Regions from separate parts of the Homo sapiens genome. Here region 2 is linked to region 1. The links are contacts of gene promoters, found by promoter capture Hi-C in human tissues and cell types (Jung and others, 2019). All regions are on one chromosome and are shown on one strand. The core of a region is centred on a gene start or on the middle of the fragment in contact, and the rest is flanking DNA. Distances in the headings are between cores, read along the strand shown.

Region 1 (5,921 bases), core at 265-2,764:
TATTTGGCTTTGCTCTGGGGAAGTAAAAGGTGTGTGTGTGTGTGTGTGTGTGTGTGTGTGTGCGCGCGCGCGCGTGTGTGTGCATGTGTGTACGCGTGCATGTTGGGTGGTAGGGAATGGAAATGGAGAAGTCCTGTTTTACTGCCCACCCCCAGGACTATTCATGGGTCCCTTCACCTCACCATCCCAGCCCTCTAAAGGGTGGAACCAGACCCAGGGAAGAGAGTGGCTCCTGGGGTTCACCCACTCTGCACCCTTGGACCATGCAACTGAGTCCACCAACTGTCAGCCCTCCCCACAACTAATGAGTCTTCAGATCCTCTTTTTTCACTTCTCCCCACCAAAGGGGAAAACAATTTCTAAAAGACAGCAGCTACACAGCAGACCAGTAGGGGTGGGAAAGGGGTATTTGGAGCAGAATTCTTACCTGAGGTATCCCAGAGACTAAGCTCCACCCTCTGTTCCTCTGTCTCCAAACAGGCTGTGTAATTTTCGAACACGGTGGGCACATAGGTCTGTGAAAAGAGAGGAAACATTCACCCCATGCACCCCTACCCTCAGATCCCCTGGTTAGTGCTGGCTACACACGCACTCACCAGAGAGACAGTAAAGTCACAGGAGACAAGAAACCAGAGGAGATGCCTGGGGCAGGAGGGAAGGGACTGTGGAGGACCAGGCACTTTGCTCTGCAGCAGTGAGAAATGTGAATGACACCCCCCCACACCACCACACCAGGGGTAAGCCCCCCATATCCTAGGCGATCAGGGACACACACACACACAGATTCCTCCCATCCCCAGATTTGTGTTTCCCAATTTGAGAGAGCCACAGGCCAAAGCCAATCCTAGCTCATCTCCTCTCAAACCCCTCCCGGCCAGGTGAACAGAGGGGCTGCAGAAGCCTGCCTGAAGGCACAGGCATAGAGCCTTTGAGGAGCAGGTGAGCGGATAGGCAGGGATTACGTCAAGAAGAAACCCCAGACTTTCAAATGCCTCCAGTGCCCTCACCTGAGAGCAGACTCCAGGGACGCAGGAAGGTGGAGGGGATCTGATGGGTCCTCTGGGTGAAGAGGTGAGGAGGAGCCAGCGGGGCGGCAGAAGTGGAACAGGTCTCAGGGGAAGCTAAGGCAGGGCAGTCCTCCAGCCAAAAAGCAGCTGAGGATGGTAAAGCCTCAGAAAGCGGCTGAGGATGGGCTGGGGCTGGGGGAGCCACGTCTCCTGAGCAGGTGGAAATCTACCCCAAGGCGGGCAGGCAGGGAGAAAAGCCGGCCAGCGGGCGGGCGGGCAGCTCACCTCTGGATAGCAATCCTTCGCTAACACTTGCAACATCGCGGTCTTCCCACACTGCACGTCCCCGACCAGAACGAGCTTACATCTGGCCACGACTGGCTGGGGGGCCCGTCTCTCCTTCATGGTTGCAGTGTCCGCGGGACTTGAACTTCGATTCAGAAGGGAGGGTTGCGCCAGGTGCGTCTCAGCACGCCAATCAAGCCAGATTCCCTGCCTCCCTCCAACTGAGGAGGAGGCCGGCACAGCCGCCTTTTATTTTTCTGGCTGAGCCAATCACAAGAGGAGGCGGACTCTGTTACGCCCAATCCCTGAGGTGGGATTCCCTCCAGCAGCCAATGGATCTGAGGATCTGAGTCAGCGCCCCCTTCCTCCCTTCTCTTTCTCTTAAAGCTGCACCGTTGTTTCCCCCTGAAAGGGGATTCCCAGGTTGTTTTGCATTTGTATTAGGAAGTGGAAAGGGTACTGGAAGCAAAATGAAATGATCTGGAGTGTCTACCAATAAGTGTCAGAAAAACAAACTAGCTATGGAAGCAGGAAGTGAGGTCAGGCTGGAGTTGCAGGGACTGTCCCGGGTGGGTTACAAAAGCAGGACCTGCTTAGACTATAGACAGGTGTGTGTGTGTGTGTGTGTTTTGGAGGAGTAGGGGATGGGGGAGGTGGCCCAGAACTTCTCTGACATTTTTTTTCTTTTTTTTCCTTACATCTTTTGTTTTAAATAGAGACAGGGGTCTCACCATGTTATCCAGGCTGGTCTTGAACTTCTGGGCTCAAGCAATCCGCCTGTCTCAGCCTCCCAAAGTGCTGGGACTACAGACATGAGCCACAGCGCCTGGCCTGATGTCTGACTTTTTTGTTTTTTCTAATTCCCATCCAAACCAGTTCTTACTTCCCTTTATTTCCCCTCCCAATATCAGCTCCTGCTGTACCTCTTTTATTTATTTATTTATTTATTTATTTATTTATTTATTTATTTATTTATTTATTTTGAGATGGAGTTTCGCTCTTGTTGCCCAGGCTGGAGTGCAATGGCACGATCTCAGCTCACTGCAACCTCCATCTCCCGGATTCAAGCGATTCTCCTGCCTCAGCCTCCCGAGTAGCTGGGATTACAGGCATGCACCACCATGCCCAGCTAATGTTGTATTTTTAGTAGAGACGGGGTTTCTCCATGTTGGTCAGGCTGGTCTCGAACTCCCGACCTCAGGCGATCCGCCCGCCTTGGCCTCCCAAAGTGCTGGGATTATAGGCGTCAGCCACCGTGCCCGGCCTGTGCCCCTTTTAAAGCCTTCTCTTCTTCAAGAATCACCTTCACCACCAAAGACAGAGAGAGAGAAAGAGAAAGAGAAAACTTTCTAGAGTCATCCATAAAAAAAACACACAGCACCTGACCCAGTGATGGGCAGAGAGAAATGAGGGACTCTGGCAAGTGGGGGTGGGAGAGAGGAAGAAGACAAAGCAAACACAGTCACTGTTTGGCCAGACAGCCTCTCACCCATGCCTAGCAGAAGCTGCTTAGGGGTGTTTGTTCTGCGGCCTAGGCTCAGCTTCCTGGATGAATCAGGCACAGGTCCAGTTCCATGTTAACGCCCACTGAAACTGACGCACTAATGTGTGTCACCTGGTTAAAGTCCAGACTGGGCCCAGGATTTTGGGATTAGAAGCTGGAGGACAATCTAAGGTTGAGATGAACTACATAAATTTTTTTTTTTTTTTTTTTTGAGATGGAGTCTCGCTCTGTTACCCGGGCTGGAGTGCAGTGGCTTGATCTCAGTTCACTGCAACCTCTGCCTCCCGGGTTCAAGCAATTCTCCTGTCTCAGCCTCCCGAGTAGCTGAGACTACAGGCGCACGTCACCATGCCTGGCTAATTTTTGTATTTTCAGTAGAGACAGGGTTTCACCATATTGGTCAGGCTGGTCTCAAACTCCTGACCTTAAGTGATCCACCCACATCGGCCTCCCAAAGTGCTGGGATTACAGGCGTGAGCCACCGCGCCCAGCCGAGCTTCATAACTTCTTAACAGCCCTGACTGATGGGGCCCCTGTATTTTGGGGAGCCTCTACTAGACAGAACTATGGGCTGTCCACAGCTTAAATAAACCACTGATTGTCCAGGAATCAAGACCGTACAAATAAGGGCTCCTGGAGATTTGTGATTGAAGGAAGACCAACTTTGGGCAAAATTGAGAGTAGTCCCTTTCCCTTGTCAAGCCCAGTGTCTCCTGGGCCTTGTTTCATCTGAGCTTTACTTTTTTTTTTTTTTTATACAGAGTCTTGCTCTTTCACCCAGGCTGGAATGCAGTGCCACAATCTCGGCTCACTGCAAACTGTGCCCGCCGGGTTCAATCGATTCTCCTACCTCAGCCTCCCGAGTAGCTGGGATTACAGGTGCCTGCCACCACACCCAGCTAATTTTTGTATTTTGAGTAGAGATGGGGTTTCGCCATGTTGGCCAGGCTGGTCATAAACTCCTAACCTTAGGTGATCCACCTGCCTCGGCCTCCCAAAGTGCTGGGGTTACAGGCGTGAGCCACTGTGCCCCAGCCTGAGCTTTACTCTTAATTCACAGTTGTTGCTGCCCCACCCAGGGATAGTTTCCCTGTGATAAAGGATGCTTGAAAGCCTTTCACAGACCCAAAGGGACAGATCTCTAAGAATGAGATTTCTAGTGCCCACCACAGGCAGTAGGAGAGTGGATGTTGTTTTGAGAATACAGCCTAACCAGTGTTCCTCCAGTCAAACCTCGTCGTGGCTCTGGGGCCAAGGCCTATACCTGCTCTCCACCCATGTCCTAAGCTCCATTCACTTCCAGGGATGGGGAATGGCCTGAGGGAAACTTCAGGGTGGAAAGGCCAGATGTTACCATTAGCTGGCTGCCGTCTCTCCCAGGCTTTCTGAAGGTTTCTGCCCTTTATCTCCCCTCATCCTCCACCCTCAGATAATGTTCTGTGGATAGAATTTGTCCTCTTCTTGCCCTTTTCCAGCAGCCTGACAGCCTCTGTGAGCTGTCTATAAGTGGGGTTTGGGATAGTTCCAGGAACAGCTGTAAGATCATAGACTGCCTCAATCTGGAGTCCTTTCCCTCAGCCTGACCTTCTCCTTCTGTATCCTCCTGTCCCCTACCTTCAGTCTCATCTGGGCTTAGTTCTGGAAGCATCAGTAGAGTTCCTATGCATCCTCTTTTTTTTTTTTTTTTTTTCCGAGACAGAGTCTTGCTCTGTTGCTCAGGCTGGAGTGCAGTGGCACAATCTCCGCTGACTGCAACCTCCGTCTCCCGGGTTCAAGCGATTCTCCTGCCTCAGCCTCCTGAGTAGCTGGGATTACAGGCACGTGCCACGATGCCCAGCTAATTTTTGTATTCTTAGTAGAGACGACGTTTCCCCATGTTGGCCAGGCTGGTCTCAAATTCTTGACCTTGTGATCCGCCTGCCTCGGCCTCCCAAAGTGCTGGGATTACAGGCATGAGCCACCGTACCCAGTCCCCCATACATCCTCCTAACCCTTAACTGAGTTCCCTCCAATCACAACCCCACAGGTGTTAGCCTTCTCTCCATGTTCTCTACCAGCCTCCCCCTACACACACCATTCATCCACCACTCCAAATAAACTTTCAGAATAAGTAAAAATTGTTCCTGCTAAGCAAACAGCTTCTTCTGGCTTCTAAGAACATTGCCATTCCTGAGCTCCTCCAAGACAGAAATTCTGAGAGCTGGTGCCAACACTGATTCTTCCCTGGGTGGCTGCATTTCAGGGTCAAGTAGCAGAAGGCCCGAGCCATTATACAGAGCAGCCTCCACCATGGCTGAGGCCCAAGATGTGTCTCCAAGGATATTTTGTGGGTCATATGTTTATGAGTTTTGGTGGAAAGGGTGTTATGTGTGTGAAAGCGTGTGTGTTAGATCAGTGGGCAGGGAGGTAACAGGAAAAGGATGGAACTGAAGTTCAGCAGGTCTAGGCCTTGGACCTCGCTCTGCCTTTAACAAGCTGTGTGCCTTTGGGTAAGTTACTTCCCTCTCTGGGTGCCTATTTCCTTAAATGCAATGTGAGGGATTTAACTAGAGAAGAAGTTTTTAGATGTTATTTAGTTTATTTATTTATTTATTTTTTTGAGATAGAGTTTTGCTTTTGTTGCCCAGGCTGGAGTGCAATGGCACGATCTTGGCTCACCTCAACCTCGCCCTCCCGGGTTCAATCGATTCTCCTGTCTCGGCCTCCCAAGTAGCTGGGATTACAGGCATGTGCCATCACACCCAGCTAATTTTTGTATTTTTAGTAGAGACGGGGTTTCTCCATGTTGGTCAGGCTGGTCTGGAACTCGTGACCTCAGGTGATCCACCCACCTTGGCCTCCCAAAATGCTGGGATAACAGGCGTGAGCCAGCGTGGTTGGCCTAGATGTTATTATTATTATTATTATTTTAGCACTTAGATTCTCTCCTCCAAATTTGTTTAAACCTCTTTTAAATAACTTTATTTCAAACTCCATAGCCAAGACCAGGTGTTGTGGCTCACACCTATAATCCCAGGATTTGGGGAGGCTGAGGTGGGAGGATCACTTGAGCCCAGGAGTTCAAAACCAGCTTAGGCAATAGAGTGAGACCCCATCTCTACAAAAAAACTTTAAAAATCAAATAA
Region 2 (2,500 bases), core at 1-2,500, 180 kb after region 1:
TACTGTGTAGTTTGTGCTTTGAGGCTTGCCCAAGGTGGGGCCGGGCCCAAAATGGCTGTTGATCCCATGGGGTGGCGGGAGACCAGGCTGAGGGACAGGGGGCTTTAGGGAAGGCTCCCCTACTGCCTGAGGGAAAGTGAAACGCATGGGAGAGGGGGTGCCCACAAATGCACCCGTCCCAGGGGACCGGACAAAATTGGGGGGCTGCCCACTTGGGACCTTGGCATGGAGCTCACCTGCTGGCCCCGCGGGCAGGGCTGCTGGGAACCCCCCAGCCCCCAGCGAAGTGTGGGCTAGAGACCCAGCCTTAAAGGCAACTTCAGGGGGCTGGGGTCGGGGTGGCTTATGCAATGGGGCAAATGGGTCACGGGACTGAGGGCGTGAGGGTGGGCGAGAATAAGGGTCAGGGGACTGGAAGCGAGGGGTAACGGGTGATGGGCAAAAAGCTTCAGCAGACAGAGGCCGGGGTGTCAGTGGAGACTGGGAGCTGGACTGGGACTGAGGACTGGCAGGCACTCGGGAGAAAGGGTCGGAGGGCAGTGAGCGAGGGGGCAGAGCACAGCAGCTCTCAGGGGGCGGAGGTTGGGGCCGAGGAGTCAATGGGGGCTGAGCATATGGGTCAGTGTAGGAGCCAGGGCGAAAGATGTCTGGGTGACTTGGAGGAGAAGGTGCCAAAGCCTGGGCAGGGGGTGGCTCCTGGGGCCTTAGGCCCAAGCCCGGGCTCTGGGGCTCTACCTGAGATGCCCGAGGGGTCAGGGGGGCTTTGAAGACATCAGGTGTCTTTAACTCCAGGCCACCCAGGTGGGTGCCTGAGGAGGGTGAGTCAACAAAGCCCAGGTTTGGGGGCCCATAGCTAGGAGAGGATGCCCCAAGCTCTTCCTTCTTCACCTCTAGGGCCTTCCGGGACTCCCCAAAAGGTGGGGGCGAGAGCAGGGGCTCGGAAGCTTTGCCTCCCCCTACCCCAGGGCTCTCAGGCACAGCCAAGTTATCCAGCGAGGGGCAGCGGGGTTTGAGGAATGGGTCAGGTGTGGAGGGCTGGTGTCTGGGGGTGCCAGGTGGGGTAGTGTGGAATTCCCCTGGCTGGCCAGCCCCAGGACGAGATGAGGCGCCCAGCATCGGGGGCTGCGCAGGGGCCCCCGTAGGACTAGGATAGGGGGGATAGGTGGGCGGTGCCGTGGGGAAGCGGGGCTCCAGGGGATAGGCAGGGGCCAGTCCAAAGGGGTCCTGCGAAGGCACTTGGGCGGGCACCTGGGGTGGGAGCTTGAGGAAGAGCTCACCAGGCGAGTCAGGGCCAGGCACCGAGCCCGCCGGCGGCTTCAGGAACCCGTCCGCAGAGGTAGACAAGCCGGCGGGGGTAGTGGGGCTGCCAATGAAAATGGTGGGGGCAGCAGCGGGGGGCGGGCTGCCCAGTGCCCCTGGCTGCGGGGGAATGCGGAGATGTAGGGCCGGTCGGTCAGTCTTACGGGCTATGTCGCCCACCTTGGTCTGCTTGTTGATCTGGCTCTCAGCCTGCTACAGGGGGAGACCAGGCATAGGGCAGTCAGGCTGCTGCAGGCAGGCCCCATGGCCCTCCACCCTCAAGAGAGGCCACCCACTAGAGGACTGCTACACCCCAGCCCAGCCCCACTCACCTTCTGCACCTTGTTGATGCGGTGAGCTGCCCGGTTATCTTTGGCCTTTTGCTGAGGGATATGGGACACAGCCTTAGGGCCTAGTGCTTGGTCTCATGCCCCGCCCCCATACTGTAGTGTTTTCACACTCCCTACCCAGAAGCAGATCCCTTCTGGCCCAGCTGCTTTAGGAGTGGGGAGCGGAAAGAACTGAGGTAAATTACCCAAAGATCCCTCCCTCCCTCTCAGTTCCCACGCTAATCCATGCTCCTTTCTGCCTCACCAGGTAGGGGGCTTTGTCAGCTGCTGGAACCTTTCTCCAGAGCTTCATGATTTGTTTGCAACGGCTTGACCAGTCTGGAGGGCAGAGAGAGTGAGTCAGAGAAGACTTGGCAGGCGACTCCTCCACCTGCCATGTTGCCAGGCTGTCTCCCTTGCCCTCATCCCACAGGTACCTGGGTAGTCTTGCTTGAGATTAGGAAAATTAATGTTGGCATAGAGCACAGGTGAGATGGTGGACAGCTGGCCCAACTCCTCATCCTTCTCCCAGCGCTGAAGACTCCGCTGGTTATAGGAGAGTCCGTCGCCCTCACCCTCCGTGGTGGGGGTTGTGGGGGTGGAGGGCGTGGTGCCACCTGAGCCCGTCCAGGGGCTGTCGGGCTCACCGGGTTCCGGGCTAAAGAAGCCCCCGCGCTCCCTGGGGCGCAGGGGCAGAGAGTCACAGGGCGCAGGGATGCCAAGTCCCACCCCAGACAAACTGCCTAGAGCCCCAGGCCACTGCCCTGCCCCAAAAGAGGAGGGTCACTAACAAGGGAATGGGGAGGAGCAGGGGAAGTGCTGCAGGAGTCCGAGGGAGGCAAAGCATGAACTCAGATGGAGGGAAAGGACAA

The links. Contacts are between HindIII fragments. The study calls those that stand out against the background at their distance.
Region 2: a contact is called between a fragment that was not itself captured here and the fragment with the promoter of RND1 in region 1, in 3 of the 25 tissues and cell types used here (adrenal gland, dorsolateral prefrontal cortex and lymphoblastoid cells).

Annotation. Positions count from the first base shown.
Region 1 is chr12:48,864,356-48,870,276 of GRCh38, forward strand. RND1 (Rho family GTPase 1) reads right to left here and starts at 1,515. Exons shown (of 5, transcript NM_014470.4): 1 at 1,293-1,515; 2 at 428-515. The coding sequence starts at 1,412. RefSeq lists enhancers at 1,329-1,448, 1,709-1,838. The HindIII fragment of the contact is 19,361 bases long and covers 1-5,921 here.
Region 2 is chr12:49,040,024-49,042,523 of GRCh38, forward strand. It overlaps KMT2D (lysine methyltransferase 2D), which reads right to left. Exons shown (of 55, transcript NM_003482.4): 29 at 2,066-2,307; 30 at 1,894-1,967; 31 at 1,632-1,682; 32 at 1-1,512. Among named protein-coding and RNA genes, the nearest start is that of KMT2D, 20 kb to the right of the region's middle. The HindIII fragment of the contact is 6,740 bases long and covers 1-2,500 here.